2 separate regions of the Homo sapiens genome follow, and region 1 is linked to region 2. The links are contacts of gene promoters, found by promoter capture Hi-C in human tissues and cell types (Jung and others, 2019). All regions are on one chromosome and are shown on one strand. Each heading gives the region's core, a stretch centred on a gene start or on the middle of the fragment in contact. The rest is flanking DNA. Distances are from core to core; before and after follow the strand shown. Region 1 overlaps ACVR2B (activin A receptor type 2B). Region 2 holds the start of DLEC1 (DLEC1 cilia and flagella associated protein).

Evidence for each region. The method cuts DNA at HindIII sites, captures the fragments that hold promoters and counts their contacts. A contact is called where the count stands out against the background at its distance.
Region 1: a fragment that was not itself captured here is called in contact with the fragment with the promoter of DLEC1 in region 2 in 1 of the 25 tissues and cell types used here (lymphoblastoid cells).

Annotation. Positions count from the first base shown.
Region 1 is chr3:38,476,815-38,480,935 of GRCh38, forward strand. It overlaps ACVR2B (activin A receptor type 2B), which reads left to right. Exons shown (of 11, transcript NM_001106.4): 2 at 473-680; 3 at 1,047-1,156; 4 at 1,327-1,478; 5 at 1,561-1,704; 6 at 2,314-2,457; 7 at 2,864-3,012. Among named protein-coding and RNA genes, the nearest start is that of EXOG, 17 kb to the right of the region's middle. RefSeq lists an enhancer at 1-237. The HindIII fragment of the contact is 5,726 bases long and covers 1-4,121 here.
Region 2 is chr3:38,037,132-38,041,157 of GRCh38, forward strand. DLEC1 (DLEC1 cilia and flagella associated protein) reads left to right here and starts at 2,077. Exons shown (of 37, transcript NM_007335.4): 1 at 2,077-2,505. The coding sequence starts at 2,095. RefSeq lists enhancers at 2,142-2,351, 2,642-2,871. The HindIII fragment of the contact is 10,609 bases long and covers 589-4,026 here.

The DNA.
Region 1 (4,121 bases), core at 1,273-3,772, 440 kb after region 2:
TGAACACTGCTCCCCTTTCCCACACCTGCAACATACAGTGATTCCGATGTGCACTGGGGTTTTAAGGGGGCCTCTTCATCGGTTTCTGCTGCAGCAGGGAAGTAGCCCCCACCCCCACGCAGGAGCCTCAGGTGTTGGTGCCCTTTCTGTGCATCTGGACTCTGTCTGTCTGGCTGTTTATCCATCCTTCTGTGGCATTAGGTTTCCTGCCTCCTCCCTTTTGCTTAGGCCTAGGGGCAGCTGTGATGGGCTGCAGAATGAGGTGGGGGCTGGTGCCAGCTGGCACACGTAAATTAAGAGGTGTGGGACGGATGGGTGGCCTACGTCCAGGGGTGAGTGCAGGAGGTTGGTGACCCCAACCCACCACCCGGCCTCCCTCCCTCAGGGTGGCCTGGCACCCAGGACTGGGAGTAGGGGTTTGGGTGGTGGTCCCAGGGGCATGCTCAGTGGTTCTCTTTTCTCTGGGGCACAGGCTCTGGGCGTGGGGAGGCTGAGACACGGGAGTGCATCTACTACAACGCCAACTGGGAGCTGGAGCGCACCAACCAGAGCGGCCTGGAGCGCTGCGAAGGCGAGCAGGACAAGCGGCTGCACTGCTACGCCTCCTGGCGCAACAGCTCTGGCACCATCGAGCTCGTGAAGAAGGGCTGCTGGCTAGATGACTTCAACTGCTACGATAGGTACCCCAAGACTTGCCCTCCTTTCCTCTTGGACCCACCTGCGCTTATACTGCCCACTGGGCCATTTGGGTCTCAGGATGTCTGAGTGGGAGATAAAGGACCAAGAAGGGGCTCTTGAGATGGTAGCCATGGCCCCACGCCCTTCCACACCCTATTTGTCCTACCTTAGCCCTGAGGAGGGGTCTCAGTGTCAACCCCTGGCTGTTCTTCCTTGGCTTTGGGTCTCCTGTAGGGGAGGTGAGTTCACACCGTCCCCCTGGTGTTGCCCATGAGGTGCTCTGTCTGTGAGGAGGGGTTGGCAGGGCAGGCCTGGGGGAGTCTTGCATCCCCCAGGTGAGGGGTATATGGAAAATTCTGTGCCTCCAGGCAGGAGTGTGTGGCCACTGAGGAGAACCCCCAGGTGTACTTCTGCTGCTGTGAAGGCAACTTCTGCAACGAACGCTTCACTCATTTGCCAGAGGCTGGGGGCCCGGAAGGTAAGGGGGCAGTGTGGAAGTGGGGCCTTGAGTCAGCCGACCTGGGCTTCTTTGGCTTGGAGCGCTTGGCTCCTCAGTTGGGTGGGGTGTGGCTACAGGGCCCTGTAGTCTGGCTCTGGAAGTGTGAGGGTGGGCAGACTGTTTGACACAGGGCTCTGTGTGTCCCCCAGTCACGTACGAGCCACCCCCGACAGCCCCCACCCTGCTCACGGTGCTGGCCTACTCACTGCTGCCCATCGGGGGCCTTTCCCTCATCGTCCTGCTGGCCTTTTGGATGTACCGGCATCGCAAGCCCCCCTACGGTCATGTGGACATCCATGAGGTGAGACAGTGCTGGCTTGGGGCAGGGCAGGATAGAGGTGGGGAGGACAGGCCAGACCTTTTTAAGCCTTGCTCTCCCCCAGGACCCTGGGCCTCCACCACCATCCCCTCTGGTGGGCCTGAAGCCACTGCAGCTGCTGGAGATCAAGGCTCGGGGGCGCTTTGGCTGTGTCTGGAAGGCCCAGCTCATGAATGACTTTGTAGCTGTCAAGATCTTCCCACTCCAGGTGAGTGTTTGAGGGGCTCCATCCAGGTCCTCTGCCTCCACTGTAGCTTGAACTGGAGGCTCTCCTGACCTGGGGCAATCCAAACCCCAAATAATATTGTGGTATGAGAGAAAAGTGAGCCTTACTGGGCCTAGTTACTCATGTTACACTTGGCTGGTCTGTAGATTTCATGCAACTATGGAATTTTATCATAGGACTAGGGTAGGGCTTTGCAAAACCTTGATTTGCCCCGGTTACCAGGGTTTTGTTTTTGACATTGGGTTCTTTCCAGCGGCCCTGGACACCAGGTCTGGCTCTGCCTCATTTGTTGGGTGATACGGGGTCACTCACACCCCATGCATGGACCTTAGTGGCCCCATTTGTAAATCGAAGTGCTAGCCTTAAGTGATCTCAGGGATCACTGTTGGCCTCATGCTCTGGGGCCTAGCTTAATACAGGTCTTCTCCTGGTCCCCTTACAAATGCTGAAGCTGGGAGGCTGGGGGGTGGGGATTGGGCTGGGAGGCTTGAGGGTGGGGAATGGGGAATGGTTGTTCTGCTGTAGGGCAATGTGACTGCAGCAGGGCTAAGCCAGCCACTTGTCCCCCCAACCCCTCGCCCCCGGCCTCAGGACAAGCAGTCGTGGCAGAGTGAACGGGAGATCTTCAGCACACCTGGCATGAAGCACGAGAACCTGCTACAGTTCATTGCTGCCGAGAAGCGAGGCTCCAACCTCGAAGTAGAGCTGTGGCTCATCACGGCCTTCCATGACAAGGTGAGCCACACCCATCAGAATGGACTCTGAGAGGAGATGGAATGTCCCCTTGGTGGCTCTCCATAATATGATGACCCCTTCCCTGTGGAGGTGTCCACCATGAAGTACTCTGCCCCGGTAGCACTATCCACTATGGGGTTACTCCTGCCATAGGTGTGGACATTGGTTCCCCTATGATAGGAACCTCTCACCCTGGGATAAGTTTTTATGATAAGAGTAGTGACTCCATGATTCCCACCCCTAGCCCTCCCTGCCTCCTGGCCTCATCCATCTTCCATATCGATTGTAGTAGCCTTCCAGGAGAGCAGCCTAGCCATTGGCCCACTGAGACTTCTCTGCCAGGGCTGGGCTGGGTCCTGTCCTGTACCCAGAATCTGTGCTCAAGTTCTGTGCTGTCTTCTCTCAGGGCTCCCTCACGGATTACCTCAAGGGGAACATCATCACATGGAACGAACTGTGTCATGTAGCAGAGACGATGTCACGAGGCCTCTCATACCTGCATGAGGATGTGCCCTGGTGCCGTGGCGAGGGCCACAAGCCGTCTATTGCCCACAGGTACCTGGGTCAGCAGGTGCCTTTCCTGCACTTGACCTGGAGCTGTGGGAAGGGTTGGTGGGCGAGAGCAGTGTCTGGAGATGTCTCAACTTCCTAAACATACTTACCCTGCTTGCTGTGTGTCCGAGGCAGCTGGGCACAAAACCTGGCCTTCCCACTGTGTCCTGGGGATGGCATGGCCTCCCAAGCTGGTTTTTGGTGCCCTCTAATGGCCACATGAAGTGCTGACTCCATTACTTTGGTTGGAGAGTTGGCTCAGTAGTTCTCAAATTTTCTAGTTTAGGATCCCTTTATACTCTTAAAATGACTTTTGTGTAAGTGGATTATGACTATTGATATTTGCTGTATTTGAGCACACCCACACATCCCATTCGCTGTCAGAGTGAGGACATCACATCTCATGTAGCCTCGGGAAAACTCTATGCTCCTAAGAGAATGAGCCTTATAAAAGCAAATAAATGAAAATAATTTTGACTTTATAGATTCCCTTGGAACAGTCTTAGAGATCTTCTGGGGTCCTCGAACCACCCTTTAAGAAACTCTGGATGAGCTCATCACTGTCATGCTTACTAAATGGCAGGCAGTGCTCTAAACACTTGAGAAGTATCAATTCATTTGACCTTCATTACCGCCCATTGAGACAAGTACTGTATTTCTCAGCTCTGTCTTGCAGATGGAGGAACAGTAGTACAGAGAAGTTGAATGACTTAGCCAAGGTCTTGTAGCTAGTTGAGTCTGGTTCTGTGACTGTGAGGGAGGGGAATGAACCTCAAATTCCAGCGTTCAAAGCTGAAGGGTCCCTGATGGTAATAACAGTAATGACATAGAAGGTAGACTGTATGAAATTGCCGTTTTTATAGGTCAAAAGGTTGAATGTTGTCTCTGCTATATGGCTCAACTTAATAGGAATACCTAGTAAGTATGCCAGGTGTGGCCCTAAACATTTGCACTTACCACTCAGTCGAATCCTCACAAGGCTGAGACAGGCACTGGGGAAACTGAGTACCACAAGTAGCTTTGCTTAGTTAGAGGTGGAGCTGGGTGCATGCAATAGCACCCTTGCTCCAGCCGGCCTTCATGGTGAGCTTGAGACCCTAAGGGGTCTCTGC
Region 2 (4,026 bases), core at 827-3,326:
TCCCAGGCTAGTCAGACTCTGTGACTGTCTCTGAGGCTGTCTAGAGGCAGGGTGGAGAAGCCAAAAGTAATGGCAAGAGTCCATTGTCCTGTCCTTCCCTATAACAGGGAAGGGGGCCAGAGAGCCTCCACAAGCGGAACTGCTCCTAAATGACAAGACCACCCAACTGGGGCTCCATTTGCCACATTAGAGCAATGGAGGCCCCCAGACTGTTGCACCCCTCTTCCTACCCACAGCTCCTTCCTGCACCACTGGGGGCCTTGCATGCTTGTGGAAAATTGGAGAAATGCCTGTTTGCCAAAGCTCCCTCCACTTCCCTCCTCCTCCCCCCACCATAGCTACCCTTTTAAGTCAGCCCTGGGAGGATAAACTTAAAGAAGAGGCCTGCATAGGCCCTGGAATGAACTCAGGACATGTGGGCACATACTTTTGGGGTCCCATGTGCCTGGAGGCGAGGCACGGGGCACATCATCTTGGCCCTGTGATCTCTTACTCTGTGGGAAAGAGTGCGGGGGACAGCCAGAGATGGGCCTCTCAAGCACACAGTCCAGGGCAGGCGGCCCTGGCTTCTCAGCTCTCAGGACAGAAAAGGTCCTGGAAAGGACAAAAGAGAGAGCCAGGCCCAACCAAGAGAAGTAGAAGTGGAAGTAGCCCAGGTGTGTGGGCAAGCATGCTAGCACTCATCTCTGGAAGTGGGTTTCAGGATGTAAGGCAAGCAAACTCAGTGTGGAGTAGAAAGTGGTTGGTTGTATCACCTGTGAGCAAAAGCCATGGTGTGCAAATGACAACAGTCAATGTGATGTTATGCTGCTGCCCTGGACAAATGCAGTCCTCTTTTCCATCTCAGTGATGCTGTCATCACCCCCCTGATTGCACACACAGGATACCTGGGAGTCATTCTTGGTGCCTGTTTCTTACCTCCCATTATCCACCAGCAAGTCTTATCAATTCTACTTTTTGGATCTATCTCCAATCCAGTTCCCTCTCTCTCATCCAATCTCCCTTCATCTCTTTCCTAACTTCTGTGCTAGTTTCCTAACTGAACTTCCTGATGCCTCTTGCCTCTCCTGTCTATTCTCATAGCAATCAGAATGATCTTAGTAAAACAGAGCTGACCATGACATGCCCCAGCTTAAGACCCTTGATGAACCTCCTACTGCCCTCAAAATAAAGTCCAAATTCCCTATTGTGGCCTACCAACCCACTTATGATCTGGCCCTAACCTATCAGTGTCATTCCTCCACCCTCACACTCTTTAAGTTCCACTCCTCCTGAATTTCATTCCGTCCTTCCCACATTTTTAAATATTTTGTAAAGATGGGGTCTCCCTATGTTGCCCAGGCTGGTCTCAAACTCCTGGCTTCAAGTGATCCTCGTGCCTCAGCCTCCCAAAGTGTTGGGATTACAGGTGTGAGCCACCACACACACGCTCTTATTTAGGTACTTTTTTGTTTTTTGTCATTCTACTAACTGTAGTACTGCATTGTGGTTTTAATTTCCACTTCTTTGATGACTAATGATGTTCAGTCTACTCCTTCTTTGAAATCTCTGCTTGGTTTTCATTTGTTCCAAGAAGTAATCGCTCCTTCTACAGACTAAGTTCCTGTCCTCCTTTGTAGTTCCATGACAACCAATATTTATCTCCACCTTGGCCTTAACCCACTAAAGTACAGTTGTTTTACTTTTACCTCCACACCCACCGCCATCATCACAAACACACACATACACGACTGTGCACTTCCTGAAGGCAGAAGCAGCATCATACTTCTTTGGTATCTTCAGCAATCAGCACAGACCTGAAACACAATCTTTACACAATAAATATGATGAGTGAATGAACAGTTGCTTAACAAATTAAAGAATGGATGAAGGTAGGTAGTTAGGTACAAGGTTTTGCAGATAGGCCTGGCTGTGTCAATTAAACCTTTCTTCATGGGTCCTCACACTTAGTAAGCTCACTTTTAAAAGGACAATGCTGAAGACACAAATGTTTACAATGACCACAGCGATGACGGGATCCGAGAGAAAGGCAAGGCGGAAGGGGTGAGGCCGGAAGCCGAAGTGCCGCAGGGAGTTAGCGGCGTCTCGGTTGCCATGGAGACCAGGAGCTCCAAAACGCGGAGGTCTTTAGCGTCCCGGACCAACGAGTGCCAGGGGACAATGTGGGCGCCAACTTCGCCACCAGCCGGGTCCAGCAGCCCCAGCCAGCCCACCTGGAAGTCCTCCTTGTATTCCTCCCTCGCCTACTCTGAGGCCTTCCACTACAGCTTCGCAGCCCGGCCCCGCCGCCTCACGCAGCTTGCGCTGGCGCAGCGTCCCGAGCCTCAGCTGCTTCGTCTGCGCCCCTCCTCGCTGCGCACCCAAGATATCTCGCACTTGCTCACCGGCGTCTTCCGCAACTTGTACTCAGCCGAGGTCATCGGCGACGAAGTGAGCGCAAGCTTGATCAAGGCCCGCGGCAGCGAGAATGAGCGCCACGAGGAGTTCGTGGACCAGCTGCAGCAGGTAACGTGGCGGTGGCGTCGCGTCTGCGGACGGTGCCGGGGTCTCAGCGCTCGGCACGCGTCAGCACCTGCCAGGTGCCAGGCGCTGTTCCAGGATCTGGGGCTGCAGTTGAGAAACAGCCCATCATGCCGAAGTGGGCCCGACATTCTAGTGGAAGGACGCTCTATCCATACACACACATGCGCAAATACCACACATACCACACAACGTGCGGCATATATCTGTAGCACCTGTCTATATTTCTCTAGACACATACGTTATATATTGCATATATCAATGAACGACTGCGGCAGACCGCTGAATAGTTGTTCCATGGAGAGGATAAAGCCAAAAGTCACCCGGCTTTGGGGTGCCTTTGTATCACAAACCACAATCTTGACTGGGCCATTCATGCGCAGATTTTAGGAAGCGTGTCTAGCCTCTAGAACAGCAACTCTGCTTCCTCATCTGTACAAGGAGAAAACCAGCTGACTCGCGGCCTCTGTGCTGAGTCGGCCTCTGCTGGCCACACTACTGAAGACTCCCTTAAACTTGTGGGCACTCCTCCCATACCCGATCCTTTACCCCGGTGTGCTTCCTGCCTCTCAGATCTTCTTCTTCTCCTTTCTGTTCTGTCCTCTACCTGCCCCTTAAGTGACATGCATCCCACGTCGTTAGCTTCAGTCATTCCTTCACTTAACACATTTGTTGAATGTCTGCTGGGTGTCATACTCTGTTCTAGGCAGTGGGGATTCAGCAGTGAATAAAAACGCCAGTGTTCGGGCACACCCACACTCACACACGCAACCTGTCCTCTGTAGCTTTCAACCTAACTGAGGTAGATAGACATTAACAAAATGAATACCTATACAGTATGTGAGATACTTACAGGACCAGTCTCGCCGCCTCCACGGGTTATAGGCTTCTTAAAGTGCAGCCAGAGCCCCTGGCTGGGATCCTGTACTCTGTGATTCGTGGGTCACCACATTCACTCTGCTAAGACTTCAGCCTACCCAGCCAGACCTTGCCCTTGAACTTCAGACTCACATCCCTGTCATTCACATGAGCCAGAATATATGGAGCATTATAAACCTATAAACCCCATGACCAGTCACCCAGTTCACTGGATTCTATCTTCTCAGTATCTGTCCCATAAGTAGCCACTATACCAGAGTCTGAATTGGCAAATAGTGATCCCTTTTTTTGAAGAAAAAAAGTAATACATATTACAAATTTTTTTTTTTGACAGAGTCTGGCTCTGTTGCCCAGGCTGGAGTGCAGTGATGTGATCACAGCTCACTGCAGCCTTAACATCAGGGGCTCAACTGATCCTCCCTCCTCAGCATCTGGAGTAGCTAGGACCACAGGTGTGCACCAGTATGCCCAGCTTATTTATTTATTTATTTATTTATTTGAGATGGAGTCTCACTCTGTCACCCAGGCTGGAGTGCATGGCGCAATCTCAGCTCACTGCAAGCTCCACCTCCCACATTCATGCCATTCTCCTGCCTCAGCCTTCTGAGTAGCTGGCGCCTGCCACCA